Linked DNA regions of Homo sapiens: regions 1 and 3 are each linked to region 2. Evidence: promoter capture Hi-C in 16 types of primary human blood cells and fetal thymus (Javierre and others, 2016). All regions are on one chromosome and are shown on one strand. The core of a region is centred on a gene start or on the middle of the fragment in contact, and the rest is flanking DNA. Distances in the headings are between cores, read along the strand shown. Region 1 holds the start of RANBP6 (RAN binding protein 6). Region 2 holds the start of SPATA6L (spermatogenesis associated 6 like). Region 3 overlaps ERMP1 (endoplasmic reticulum metallopeptidase 1).

Region 1 (4,731 bases), core at 1,262-3,761, 1.3 Mb before region 2:
ATCTGCCTGCCTCAGCCTCCCAAAGTGCTGGGATTACAGGTGTGAGCCACCATGCTCGGCTACAATGTAATTTATGAGACTACCTACTTTGTCTATCATCTGGTTAATGTAAAAGCTACGACTTTCTAATTTTTGTGGGTATATGCGGCAGCACTTTACAAAAACAAAATTAAGGCTGCTTGGAAAAGTTTAAGACAGAATTTGCAGTAAGTGAAGCCTCTGATCATGCTGCAAAACCAAGAGTAGTTAATGGGGAAGCAATATGGTGAAAAGAGCATCAGTGTCACTTTCAGAAGAGGTAGAATTGAGACTCAGGTGTGTCATCCTAGGCAAATCCTGTAACTTCCCTTAGTTTCCACTTCTCACCTAAATTTAGTATTATATCTATCCTAGCAATCTCTCAATTCTGTATAAGGGTCAAAATGAGTGTGGCAAGTGCTAATACAAAAGTAAGACCTAATCATTGTTATAGGAATGAAACTTGTTTTTGATTGACACACCTGCCTGAATTAAAGAAACAAACTGGCCAGGCGCGGTTGCTTACACCTGTAATCCTAGTACTGTGGGAGGCCGAGGCGGGTGATCTCTCACGAGGTCAACAGATCGAGACCATCCTGACCAAACATAGTGAAACCCCGTCTCTACTAAAATACAAAAATTAGCTGGGCGTGGTGGCATGCGCCCATAGTCCCAGCTACTCAGGAGGCTGAAGCAGGAGAATTGCTTGAACCCAGGAGGCAGAGGTTGCAGTGAGTTGAGATCGCACCACTGCACTCCAGCCTGGCGACAGAGCGAGACTCCATCTCACAAAAAAAAAAAAAAAAAAAAGAAACAAATTTAGTTTCATCAACATTTGTTTCTTGGAATAACCTCAGCAGCTTCCCACTAATGGTTAGTTAGGATTCTAGTTAACCGCATCCCTTCATATTTCAGTTTAGACAAGATGCAAGGAAAATCTTGAGTAACTTGTCCTAGGATACAAAATTAATTTAGTGACAAGGCCAGGATGCAAGTCTGTCTTCTGATTATTAGTTCAGATCACTTTCTACCATACTTTACTCAGTTGTCTTTCCCATTCTTTATTATAACCAACAGGCCAGGTGATTCTGACACACACCAGATTTTGAGCTACCACTCTACTGCATTAGATGTGGTAGTGGGGAAGTAATTATTATTTTATTATCACACTTATTATTTTATAAAGCTTTATTGTAGTATTATTTATATGCCATACAATTCACCAATTTAAATTTAACAACTCAATGGTTTTTAGTATAATCACAGAATTGTGCAACCATCACAATTAATTTTAGAACATTTCATCACTCAGAAAGAAACACCCTATTTGATAGCAGTCATTCTCTATCCTCCCCTCCCCCCAACCTCTGGCAACCACTAATTTCTGTTATACAATTTGCCTGTTTGGTACCTTTCATACAAATGGAATCATACAATATGTGGTTGTGACTGGTTTCTTTCACTTGGCATGTTTTCAAGATAGACTTATTGTTTTAAAATTATCAAAGTAACAATATAGTTTAGAAATAAAAGAAAAAAATCACTCATAATCTGACCAGAAGCAGTGGCTCACACCTGTATTCCCAGTACTTCGGGAGGCCGAGGCGGGCAGATCACCTGAGCCCAGGAGTTCGAGACCAGCCTGGGCAACATGGCGAAACCCTGTCTCTATAAAAAACACAATTAGCCGGGCGTGGTGGCGCGCGCCTGTGGTCCCAGCTACTGGGGGAACTGAGGCGGGGAGGATCGCTTGAGCCCAGGAGGTTGAGGCTGCAGTGAGCAGGGATCGCGCCGCTATACTCCAGCCTAGGTGACACAGCCAGACCTTGTATCCAAAAAAAAAAAAAGTCATGATCCCATTCTAATCAATGCTTTTCTTCTCTCGCCTGCAAGTGCACGTTTATCTTATTGAAAAACAAATGGAGGATGCCATTGGCCTCCACACGGCTCTCACCTCTCTCCAAAACCTAGCTCGCAGCCTGCCAGAGCGCAGCTAGAGTTTCTGGGCAGAGGAGGGAGAAGCACCCCGCCCATCCCCGCCGGCGCCTCGCCTACGTCACTGCTTCGAGCCGCAGACCCCCTCCCTCCTTCCCGGTCGCGGTAGCTTTGACAGAGCGCAATGGCGGCAACCGCGTCTGCAGGGGTGCCGGCGACCGTGTCAGAAAAGCAAGAGTTTTACCAGCTTCTGAAGAACCTGATCAATCCAAGCTGTATGGTGCGGAGGCAAGCAGAGGAAATCTATGAAAATATCCCAGGTCTGTGTAAGACTACCTTCCTCTTAGATGCCGTCAGAAATAGAAGAGCAGGTTATGAGGTGAGACAAATGGCTGCCGCACTGCTACGACGGCTTTTGTCCTCTGGGTTTGAGGAGGTTTATCCAAATCTGCCTGCTGATGTTCAGAGAGATGTCAAGATTGAACTGATTCTGGCTGTTAAGTTAGAAACACATGCTAGCATGAGGAAAAAACTTTGTGATATTTTTGCAGTGCTGGCCAGGAATTTGATAGATGAGGATGGCACTAACCACTGGCCGGAAGGTCTGAAGTTTCTTATTGATTCAATCTACTCCAAAAATGTGGTTCTATGGGAAGTTGCACTTCACGTTTTCTGGCACTTTCCTGGGATTTTTGGGACCCAAGAGCGGCATGATTTGGATATCATCAAACGGTTGTTGGACCAGTGTATTCAAGATCAAGAACATCCAGCAATCAGGACATTATCCGCTAGAGCTGCAGCTGCATTTGTACTTGCTAATGAGAATAATATTGCTCTTTTCAAAGACTTTGCAGACTTGCTTCCTGGAATCTTACAGGCTGTGAATGACTCATGCTACCAGGATGATGATTCAGTGCTAGAATCCCTTGTTGAGATTGCAGATACCGTACCTAAGTACTTGGGTCCTTATTTAGAAGATACTCTACAGTTGAGTTTGAAGTTATGTGGAGACTCTAGGCTTAGTAATCTGCAGCGCCAGCTGGCCCTCGAAGTTATAGTGACCTTGTCTGAAACTGCCACTCCGATGTTGAAAAAACATACAAATATTATTGCACAGGCAGTTCCTCATATATTAGCAATGATGGTTGATCTACAAGATGATGAGGACTGGGTAAATGCTGATGAAATGGAAGAAGATGATTTTGACAGCAATGCAGTTGCTGCGGAGAGTGCACTAGACAGACTGGCTTGTGGGCTTGGTGGAAAAGTTGTTTTACCAATGACCAAGGAGCATATCATGCAGATGCTTCAGAGCCCTGACTGGAAGTATCGACATGCTGGATTAATGGCCTTATCTGCCATTGGAGAAGGATGCCATCAACAAATGGAATCAATTCTAGATGAAACAGTTAACTCCGTTTTGCTTTTTCTTCAGGATCCTCATCCAAGGGTGAGGGCTGCAGCCTGTACTACACTTGGACAGATGGCTACAGATTTTGCACCTAATTTCCAAAAGAAATTTCATGAAACAGTGATTGCAGCTCTGTTACGTACCATGGAAAATCAAGGTAATCAGCGTGTGCAATCACATGCAGCTTCTGCTCTTATTATTTTTATTGAAGACTGCCCTAAATCATTGCTAGTTCTATATGTGGATAGTATGGTGAAAAATCTACATTCCGTCTTGGTGATTAAACTTCAAGAGTTGATTCGGAATGGAACTAAGTTGGCTTTGGAACAACTTGTGACAACCATTGCATCAGTTGCAGATACAATAGAAGAAAAATTTGTCCCATATTATGATATATTCATGCCCTCACTAAAGCACATTGTTGAGCTTGCTGTTCAGAAGGAACTCAAGCTTCTGAGAGGAAAAACTATCGAGTGCATTAGCCATATTGGTCTTGCTGTTGGGAAGGAAAAATTTATGCAAGATGCATCAAATGTGATGCAGCTGTTGTTGAAGACACAATCAGACTTAAATAATATGGAAGATGATGACCCTCAGACCTCTTACATGGTTTCAGCATGGGCTAGAATGTGTAAAATTCTTGGAAAAGATTTTCAACAGTACCTTCCACTGGTTATCGAGCCTCTTATTAAGACTGCTTCAGCTAAACCTGATGTTGCTCTCTTAGACACACAGGATGTGGAAAATATGAGTGACGATGATGGCTGGCAATTTGTAAATCTTGGAGACCAGCAGAGTTTTGGAATTAAAACTTCAGGACTTGAAGCAAAAGCAACTGCTTGCCAAATGTTGGTTTACTATGCTAAGGAGTTAAGGGAAGGGTTTGTGGAATATACAGAACAAGTTGTGAAGCTGATGGTTCCTTTACTGAAATTTTATTTCCATGACAATGTTCGAGTGGCAGCAGCAGAGTCCATGCCTTTTCTCCTGGAATGTGCAAGAATTCGTGGCCCAGAGTATCTTGCACAGATGTGGCAATTCATATGTGACCCCTTAATCAAGGCTATTGGTACTGAACCAGATACAGATGTGCTCTCAGAAATAATGAATTCTTTTGCAAAGTCCATTGAAGTTATGGGAGATGGTTGCCTTAATGATGAACACTTGGAAGAACTGGGAGGAATACTGAAAGCAAAACTTGAAGGGCACTTTAAAAACCAAGAATTGAGACAGGTGAAAAGACAGGAAGAAAACTATGATCAACAGGTTGAGATGTCTCTGCAAGATGAGGATGAATGTGATGTTTATATTCTGACCAAAGTATCAGATATTTTGCACTCATTATTTAGTACTTATAAGGAAAAGAT
Region 2 (4,183 bases), core at 1,684-4,183:
GAGCGAGACTCTGTCTCAAAAAAAAAAAAAAAAAAAAAAAAAAAGGGAGAACCAGAGAGATGGCAGCATGAGAAGGACTTGGCTCTATGTAGCCAGTTTTGAACATGAAAGAAGGAAACTTTAAGCCAAGGAATACGAGCAACCTCCAGAAAAGCAAGGAAACAGAAAGGCAAGGAATGCAGCCCTGCAGGCACCTTGATTTTAGCCCATTGAGATCTGTGTTGGACTTCTCACAAAATTAAATAATAAATTTGTCTTGCTTTAAGCCCCTAAATTTGTTAAGCAGCCATAGGAAATGAATACATTGTATGTATTTACACTCCCATCAATGTGTTTTCCCATACCCTTCCCACTAGTGCTGTCTCTTTAATAGTTTCTTCCTTTCATATGAATACACTTATTATTTGAAATATTTATGATTTTTGTCTTATAATTAATTTTTTTAGTTAAAAAAAAATCTCAGCCATAATTATCTGTCATATTCTTGTTCTTTGTTAATTTACTCTTTGGAAAATCCCCATTTGGGGCATGTTTCATTTTCTTGTCTGGGGCCAGGATGTGAACGGGATGTGCTGCTGTATCATTTCTGCAATGCTGATGTCACTGCTGGCCAAGCTGCACTGCAGATACTCTCTGGAAATAGCAGTTGTTCATTGAAATCTGTTTGCTGCCACCAAGAGGTACCTACCCAGGTAATAAAGGCTTTCTCTTGAAGTGGTGACAGTCCAATCCTTAAAAGGCTTTGTTGGCCCCCGGCAGAGGTGGACAGCCTCAATGATAAATAACTTTGCAAGATGAGTGAGAGGGACTGGGTGTGTATAGCAACTGCCACATCTCCACAGCAGCTGAGAGCCTCAGGTAACCATGGCGGGGACAATTAGGAGAGTGTGAAGTATCCCCATCAACTCATTTAATATCACCATAGCAGATTTGCAGAAGTAGCTGTGCCTGGTCCTTTCTAATTCTGCAGATTTCTTTTACCCATTGTGATGGGACCTCTCTTTATCCATGTACATTAACCCCCACAGATTGGCTTGACCATCTCTGCATTTAATATTCAAAAATATTTATTATCTTCTATCCTATTTAGGGTATAAACGCTTAGCCATGCAGAGTTTACAGATTAAGGAGACAAATAGTAATCAAGAGTCACAGGAACAAATGTAAAACTGCTATTATGGCAGTCGCTACAAAGAGGAGATATATATATTTATATGTATGACATAAGATATGATATTGAGATTCCACCTTGTCAGCAGAAGAGAGGTCTTGGTGGGGTATGTAAATCTGTATACATGTGTTAATCAATGTCTGCAATGGATGACACTCTAAGTAAAGGGTATAGAGTGAGGAAAGGAAAGGACCTAGAAACATTGCTTAGCCAGAGGAGGATAAACAGACAAAGAAAGAATAGCCAGAAAGTTGGAGGGAAACCAGAAGAGAGCTGTGCCCTAGCAGCCAAGCAAGGAGAGTCCAGTTAGATCAAGAGTTAAGACTAAGAAGAGCATAGAATGGAACATTGTGTCTCTAGAGATCAACAGGATGTCTATATTGCAGACCCAGTGATGTGGTAGGGCACACCTGGATTCAAATGTGGCTGCTCCCTTATTAGGTCTGTGGCTTTTAGTAAAAGGCTGTCTAGCTTCAGATTCTGCATCTGTAAAATAGGGATAATATCTCCCTGATAGAGTTATTGTAGGGTTGAGATGAATTAGCATACGCAATGTGCCTAGCACTTTGCAGATCCTCAGTAAAGACTGATTCTTCTCTCCCAATACAACTCTGGCTATTTATTAATTTGTTTTGCTTGTCACTCTCCTTGATTTCTTAGCATTGGTGTTGGTGACCTACCTGTTAGGATCATCACAGGTCCTGTCCCACATCACTCTGGGTGTCAGCAAGTTGTGAGTGACAAATCAATGATCTGGACACTATAGATAGTTAGGTGCCCACCTGTATCTCTTGATATGCAGAGAGACACAGCACTAGGAACTGGATAAGGATACAATATGCCCTTCTTCATCATACCAAGTTTTTCCCTTCCAGGGAAATAAACTCCAGTTACCAAAATGAATACCCAATCTTGTCTTGACCATCCTTCTGCACTATTTCCAATTGTATAACTCTCTAATGCAAAATATTAGTAATAAATGACTGAACATAATTTAGGATTTAAAATTTTTTTTTCAGAGGCAGCATTGGCCTTCCTAGATTTTTTGGATTGCTAGAAGGAGCCACTACCTGCTCCTTTCCTTCATTTTTCTCTATTAGATGTAGTGAATGTCCCCTACTCATTCAGAACTCTTGCTCTGCGCACCACCTCTGACAGTGTTTACAGTAACTGTGGTTTTGGCAAATGCAATAACTACCCATTGGACTACTCAATGCTTGCCTTAAACTAAACCCCAGAAAAGGCTGGACACCGTTATGGAAAGACTGACATATTTCTATTGCTGCTAACAGGGGATACCTAACTTTTAAATATGTTTAAGAATTAACCTTATATTTCTAATTAGCACACGTTTGTTATTGACGGTGGCCATGTTTTCCGAAGCAAACATAACATTTAATAAGCAAAAGAGTATTTTTAGGAACAGGCAACTATATTAAATGAGAATTGTTACAGAAACTACAAGGCTTGGGGTCGTGCAGCTACTAAACGTGTACTATTTAAATTATAACAGACCTATGATCTCATTCTACTTTCAGAATGAAAACGGTAAACATTCTGACATGGTAATTGGGGATAGCAGGAGCTGATGGAAAGAAGATCGGGATTGTTAGCATTTCTCTATCCGTCTAGCACGCCAGACAGGGCCAGTCTCTCCGGCTGGGGGCACTGCGTGGGCAACAGCGACCGTGAGGGCGCGCGTCTGCGCTGGGGCCTCGCGCGCGTTCCACGATGAAGACTGCGCGTTTGAGTGTCCCTGGCAACGCCACGCTTCCGCCTTCTGGAAGCCTGCACTCCAGCTTCGAGTGTGAGAGACCCGTCCCGGTGGGAGGGACCTGGGCTGGGGGGGACGGTAGGGGAACAAGGGCGTGGGACTGGGGAAGCTTCTGGGAACATTTGCTCTAGGTATTCAGCTAAACTAAGAAAAATTGGTCCAAGGCTCGGCACAAAAGGATCTTCTCATTCCAGTCCTTTCGCCCACGCAGGGAACGATGCCTCTGGAGGTGGTGGTGGAGCTGCAGATCCGGGCGGTAAGAGATCGATGAACTCCCCCTCCTTAACCTCAAGTCGGACTCTAAATAGTCTCAGGTGGTTTTCAACAACCCTCCCCCACATCCCCCACTTACCACAAACACATCATTATCTTCTGGGACAGATCGCACCTTTGTCTTTTTCTCCATATTGGTTTTCCCTGACTTCCTAACCTTTAATTCAGCTCCACCTGTTCCCACTTTTTTTTTTTTCTGTTCTAAAGCTAACATGTTTCTTATCTTTATCATGAATTTTTAATTTCTTTTCAAACAACCCTGCATTAAGTCCAGGTAGAATTTATTTTCTTCTCCTGGATAAAGATTTGTGAAAGGATTTTCAACTTCTTTAAATAACCAGGGAATAATTTTAAAAAGCTCCATCACTTCCTGATTATTTGCCAACTCTATGAACCAATCAGATATTTTCTATGATATTTCCCCTTAGTGATAGCTCTGGCTTGCTAATTCCAAAAGGGAAATCAATCAATCACTATTTCGTAATTACCAAATCCTTCCTAAGTGAAGTGCTGTGGCAGAGTGACTCCATGGTTTCTACTTGGGGGTCTGTCACTCCCTCTTATTTCAGTTTCCATTTTCCAATCCTTCCATGTAGTTAGTAACAGAATATCATGCCGCTTTTCCTCTAGGGGCTTTTCTACTGGCTATGATTACAAGCACAGTGCTAACAGGAAATTGTCATGGAATCTGGTTGTCTTCCATACAATTGGCAAATGGTGTGGTTTCATCATACATGTGGGTGTGAAAGGTGATCAACATTTCCTGGATTTGTCCCACTTTGCTGACAGCAAATAGGGCTAGACCTTATTAGTAGTGCTATACCAGTTTTAAGCTCTAAAAATTGTGCAGGAAGAAGGAACTCTTGAGAAGCTAAGTGATAAATCTGTCTCCCTCCTCATCAAGGCAAAAATTAAGCAAGTTTTCATCTCACTTCATTCACCATTATTTGTTAATTTTATTTTGA
Region 3 (4,671 bases), core at 1-2,500, 1.2 Mb before region 2:
CTGCGGACGCTGGTGCAGCTCTCGCTGCAGCAGCTCGTGCTACGCGGGGCCGCTGGACACCGCGGGGAGTTCGACGCGCTCCAAGCCAGGTACCGGCCGCTCCCTCCTGGCACGGCCCGCGCGTCCGTTTGCGGCTCCTGCGCAGGCTCCGGGGCACCGCACCTGTGTGCACCCGCCCCTGCCGGACCGCTGGGACTCGCTGACCCCTCCCAGGCTGCACGTGGGGTGGGGTGACCTTGCTTGTCCTTCTTCTGGGGTCTGAATTGCCGGGACTTGGGGCTTGCCTGTCCCCGGTTAAGCTCGTGGTGCAGATTGGGGTTGCCAGGTAGATTGAACCTGCTTTCCACTGTCTGCCCTTCGTGCAGATGGTTGGTTGTGAGTCGTCTCCCCATATTCTGGAACAGCTTCCCCTTTTTACCTTGCTTAGCCCTTCTGCTTTCCAGATGGAAATTTGTGTACCTAGACTGTTGTATAAATTCGCTTTGGGGGCGGGGAGTTTTGGAAGGCGCTAGTGCACTGTTCTAACTTTCTGAGGGTTACAGCCCCCACATCTGAAGGCTATAGAAACTCTTTCTGGAACACCGCCCAGTCAAAATTTGGTATGCAGTCTGATAAATTCTCAGATCCCTGCAGTTTATCTTTAGGCCCCTTGGATTAGTGACTGTGTAAGGTTTGACTTTTTTTTTTTTTTTTAAGACCTTTAAGAATGCTAGGAAAGGTGATTAAGTCAAAGATATTGTAACCCAGGTGTGTCAAAGCTCATGAAGTGTTAAGCTGGCGTCAAGTTTTCAACAGCTACTGTGTTCTAAAAAGTTTTTGCTAGAATGCAAAGTGTTGCAAGCTTATTAAGGACTTTCTGAAACGTCTCCCACCCCCACTTCCAGCTTTCCCCACTTGGAATGCAGTGAAAAGACAAAAACAGTTTTGTTTTCATTAGGGGTACAGTTGGTTTTGGCCTGAATTGAAGTTATTAGACCTTGGGTGTATGCTAGGAGGGCTAGGTCCATCAAAAGTTTCCCCCGCCCGCCTTATTTAACCTCTTGACTTGATTATTTTTGCTCATTGGTTTCTGCTACTTAAAGTCATTAACCCAGAATCTGTAACGTTCAGGAGTATGCACAGTGAAGTTATATTCTATCCTGCTTAGTCTTTAGCTTTTTTTGTTTGTTTTCTGAGACAGGGCCTGGCTCTGTCGCCCAGGCTGGAGTGCAGTGGCTCCATCTCGGGTCTGTAGCCTCCACCTCCCAGGTTCAAGCAGTCCTCCCACCTCAGCCTCTTGAGTAGCTGGGACTACAGGCGGATAGTAGTCTACATCTGGCTAGTTTTTGTAGTTTTAGAAGAGATGGGGTTTCACCATGTTGCCCAGGCTGGTCTCAAACTCCTGAGCTCAAGCAATCCACCCACCTCAGCCTCCGAAAGTCCTGGGATTACAGGCGTGAGCCACCGTGCCTGGCCAGTGGTCACACGTTTTGAATACATCCCTAGTCCTTGTATTGGTTTGATATGGGGAGAAGTTGGGAGTGGGATGGTGGAGAAAACTGAAGGGGTCAACTCGTGGGAGGCAACAATAAAAATATGGAACTTTATAAGTGATGTTCACTTGGTGTCTGAAATAATGAAAGGCGGTCCCTTTTATATAAGGCAAAGAACTAAGCTTTTTTGGGGAGGAAGGGGTGTGTAGTGGAAAAGTTACCCACGCTAAGTGTCAATTTTAACTACAAACCTTTGTTATTCTTTTGGTTACTTCCAGGGATTATCTTGAACACATAACCTCCATTGGCCCCAGGACTACAGGAAGTCCAGAAAATGAAATTCTGACCGTGCACTACCTTTTGGAACAGATTAAACTGATTGAAGTGCAAAGCAACAGCCTTCATAAGATTTCAGTAGATGTACAACGGCCCACAGGCTCTTTTAGCATTGATTTCTTGGGAGGTTTTACAAGCTATTATGACAACATCACCAATGTTGTGGTAAAGCTGGAACCCAGAGATGGAGCCCAGCATGCTGTCTTGGCTAATTGTCATTTTGACTCAGTAGCAAACTCACCAGGTATGTACCTGTTTTTTAGTCATTTGGAACTTGTCACAGCCCAGAAAGTTTATTAACATAACCCCAAGCTACTTGGGCAATTGTGGGGACCATTTTCTTGGGCAAACCTTTTTTCTTTGTGATGGAAAGCAGGATAATTAGGATAGTATCATTTAGTTTAGGATCTAACCATTCTGTCTTCTCTTAAGTGCTTTATTAATATTATTTTTTGGTGTTAATGCCAGCAGCCCAGTGATAAGACTTGGAATGTTTCTGGTAGACTGAAGCAGCTTTCTCAATGTTACCAGACAGTGTGTGTGTCCTAGTGTCCTGGAGTTAGGTTCTGACACTTAGAAAGTGTTTTACTCAGCTGGGTGTTATACTAGGCTTTGGGGATACCACATAAGGACAGTCCCTGCCTTCAAGGGTTACTGCATGGTTTTAGAGCAGGGGTGTCCAATCTTTTGGCTGCCCTGGGCCACATTGGAAGAAGAAGAATTGTCATGGGCCACACATAATATACACTAATGATGGCTGATGAGCTTAAAAAAAAAAACTCATGTTTTAAGAAAGTTTACAAATTTGTATTGGGCTGCATTCAAAGCTGTCCTGGGCTGCGGGTTGGCGGATATCTCTTCTAGCAGATTCTGTTGACCTATAAAGTGAGAATTTTGCTCCACTGAGGGTGCCATACTGTTAAAGTACCTAATTAATGTGTAAATCTTTCTCTGAAAATCATTTGGCAAAATAGAATACTTGCATTTAGGACAGTGCCTGATGCAGTATATATTTGTCAAATGAATGGGAATCCCCTAAATTGAACTTCCATTTATTAAAATATTTATTTTTCAGAAAATTGTATTCAGTGGTTAAAGGGATTGTAAATAGGGATGGAAAATAGCATTTACAATGGCATAGCATTTTAGTGGTAGACAAGACCTGAGATGGCATCTGGCTGAACCCCTCATTTGATACAGGAGTACATTTAGCTAGCTGGTCATCGCTGATCAGAGACAAAACTAGGATAAGATGCTGGATTTCCTGGCCAGTCAGTTCTTTCAGCTACATTTGAAAGGAAAAAGAATATTAGGGTGTAATTAATACTCCCTTTTGCAAATTGCTTAACTTCTTAGTTTCTCATCTGTGTAATGGAGAAAATAATAGTACTTTCCTAATAGTGTTGCTTGGAGGATTAAAAATAAGTAAAACGCTAAAATAGTACCTGGCATGGAAAGTGATTTTTAAAAGTTTTTATTAACTCTTATGTAATATTAACACTTCTGGATTACTCGAACTTATAGCAGGCCAAATTTGAACGTCTAGAGTTATACAAAATGTAAGTAAAATTTATTTGCTTGATAAAATGATTCATATTAGAATATCTTCATTTAGAAAGCTTGACAATTGCGTTTAGAATGTAACTTGCATTTTCAAAAATCAGTATACACACGTTTGTTAAATAAGCCAGAAGTACCTTCGTGTGCTGCTGGGGTAACCAGTGGTTTAGTGTTTTTTTTTTTTTTTTTTTGGCTGGGGGGCCAAGTCTCACTCTGTCACCAGGCTGGCATGCAGTGGCACAATCTTGGCTCACTGCATCCTCTGCCTCCCGGGTTTAAGCGATTCTCCTACTGTGCCACCACACTCGGCTGATTTTTTTTGTATTTTTGGCAGCGACAGGGTTTCACCATGTTGGCCAGGCTGGTCTTGAACTCCTGACCTCAAGTGATCCGCCTACCTCAGTCTCCCAAATTTCTGAGATTATAGGTGTGAGCCACTGTGCCCGGCCACCAGTGGTTTTTTTATGTCCATTTCAAAGCAGTAATAAATGTCACTCTTTGCCCACTATTATGATGCTTAAATTCTGGGAAGCGGCAAATAAACACCATGGTTGCTTAAGAACATTATATAAGAAGGCTGTATATACAAGAATTAGCAGCAAATGTAGGGACAAAAGAAAAAAGTTTCCCCTCTACCCTTCATAGTTCTTAGCTGAGTGGACCCCTGTAACAAAAGACAGGTTAAAAAGAGAAAAACCAAATAGAAGTTTATTAACACATGCACTTCATGTACATGGGAGATACTCAAGGAAAATGAGTACATCTCAAAGAGGTGGCTTAGAAATCTGGCTTATGTAGCATCTTCAACCAAACAATACATTTTTAGAGAAGTGACAAAGGAAAAGGACCTTGAGTCTCGAGGGGTGGCAAATTGAAGGAAGGCAAATAAATGGTAGAGAAAGGTTAGTTAGTAAAGTGTTATATAGATTCCTTTTGTGCTGTTGCCAGGCCACCAAAAGTTTAAAGTTGTCTTTCTTGATCAACCTTTGTACTTCCTGGTGGAAAGGGGAAGTGGGGACACCTTGGTAAATGTATACCCTGCTTTTAGGCAAACAAGGGGAGGGCAGAGAGCTTTTTTGTATAGTACCTGCTTCTCAGTTGCCTTCAGCTCAAAATAATCCGTATGTCAAAGTGACATATTTTGGAGTGCATATTCAGTTACTCTTTACAAACATAGTGCCAAATGTTACAGATTGTATATGTGGAGTCTAATAATTAAAGGCCAGCATTTTTGTGAGCCATTAGAACCCACTTTTTATTATTATGTTTTAAATAATAGAGACAGGTTCTCACTTTGTTGCCC

Evidence for each region. Contacts are between HindIII fragments. The CHiCAGO score rates a contact against its expected background, and 5 or more counts as called.
Region 1: a contact is called between a fragment that was not itself captured here and the fragment with the promoter of SPATA6L in region 2, in 1 of 17 cell types (fetal thymus). The highest score is 5.1, in fetal thymus.
Region 3: a fragment that was not itself captured here is called in contact with the fragment with the promoter of SPATA6L in region 2 in 1 of 17 cell types (monocytes); the score reaches 5.6 in monocytes.

What each region holds. Positions count from the first base shown.
Region 1 is chr9:6,013,014-6,017,744 of GRCh38, reverse strand. It overlaps RANBP6 (RAN binding protein 6), which reads left to right and starts at 2,121. Exons shown (of 1, transcript NM_012416.4): 1 at 2,121-4,731. The coding sequence starts at 2,138. RefSeq lists an enhancer at 2,243-2,302. The HindIII fragment of the contact is 2,610 bases long and covers 1,207-3,816 here.
Region 2 is chr9:4,665,230-4,669,412 of GRCh38, reverse strand. SPATA6L (spermatogenesis associated 6 like) reads left to right here and starts at 2,933. Exons shown (of 12, transcript NM_001353486.2): 1 at 2,933-3,201. The coding sequence starts at 3,163. It overlaps PLPP6 (phospholipid phosphatase 6), which reads right to left. Exons shown (of 1, transcript NM_203453.5): 1 at 4,155-4,183. RefSeq lists silencers at 3,005-3,084, 3,095-3,144. The HindIII fragment of the contact is 11,868 bases long and covers 1-3,056 here.
Region 3 is chr9:5,828,108-5,832,778 of GRCh38, reverse strand. It overlaps ERMP1 (endoplasmic reticulum metallopeptidase 1), which reads left to right. Exons shown (of 15, transcript NM_024896.3): 1 at 1-89; 2 at 1,751-2,052. Among named protein-coding and RNA genes, the nearest start is that of ERMP1, 2.7 kb to the left of the region's middle. RefSeq lists a silencer at 1-95. The HindIII fragment of the contact is 813 bases long and covers 844-1,656 here.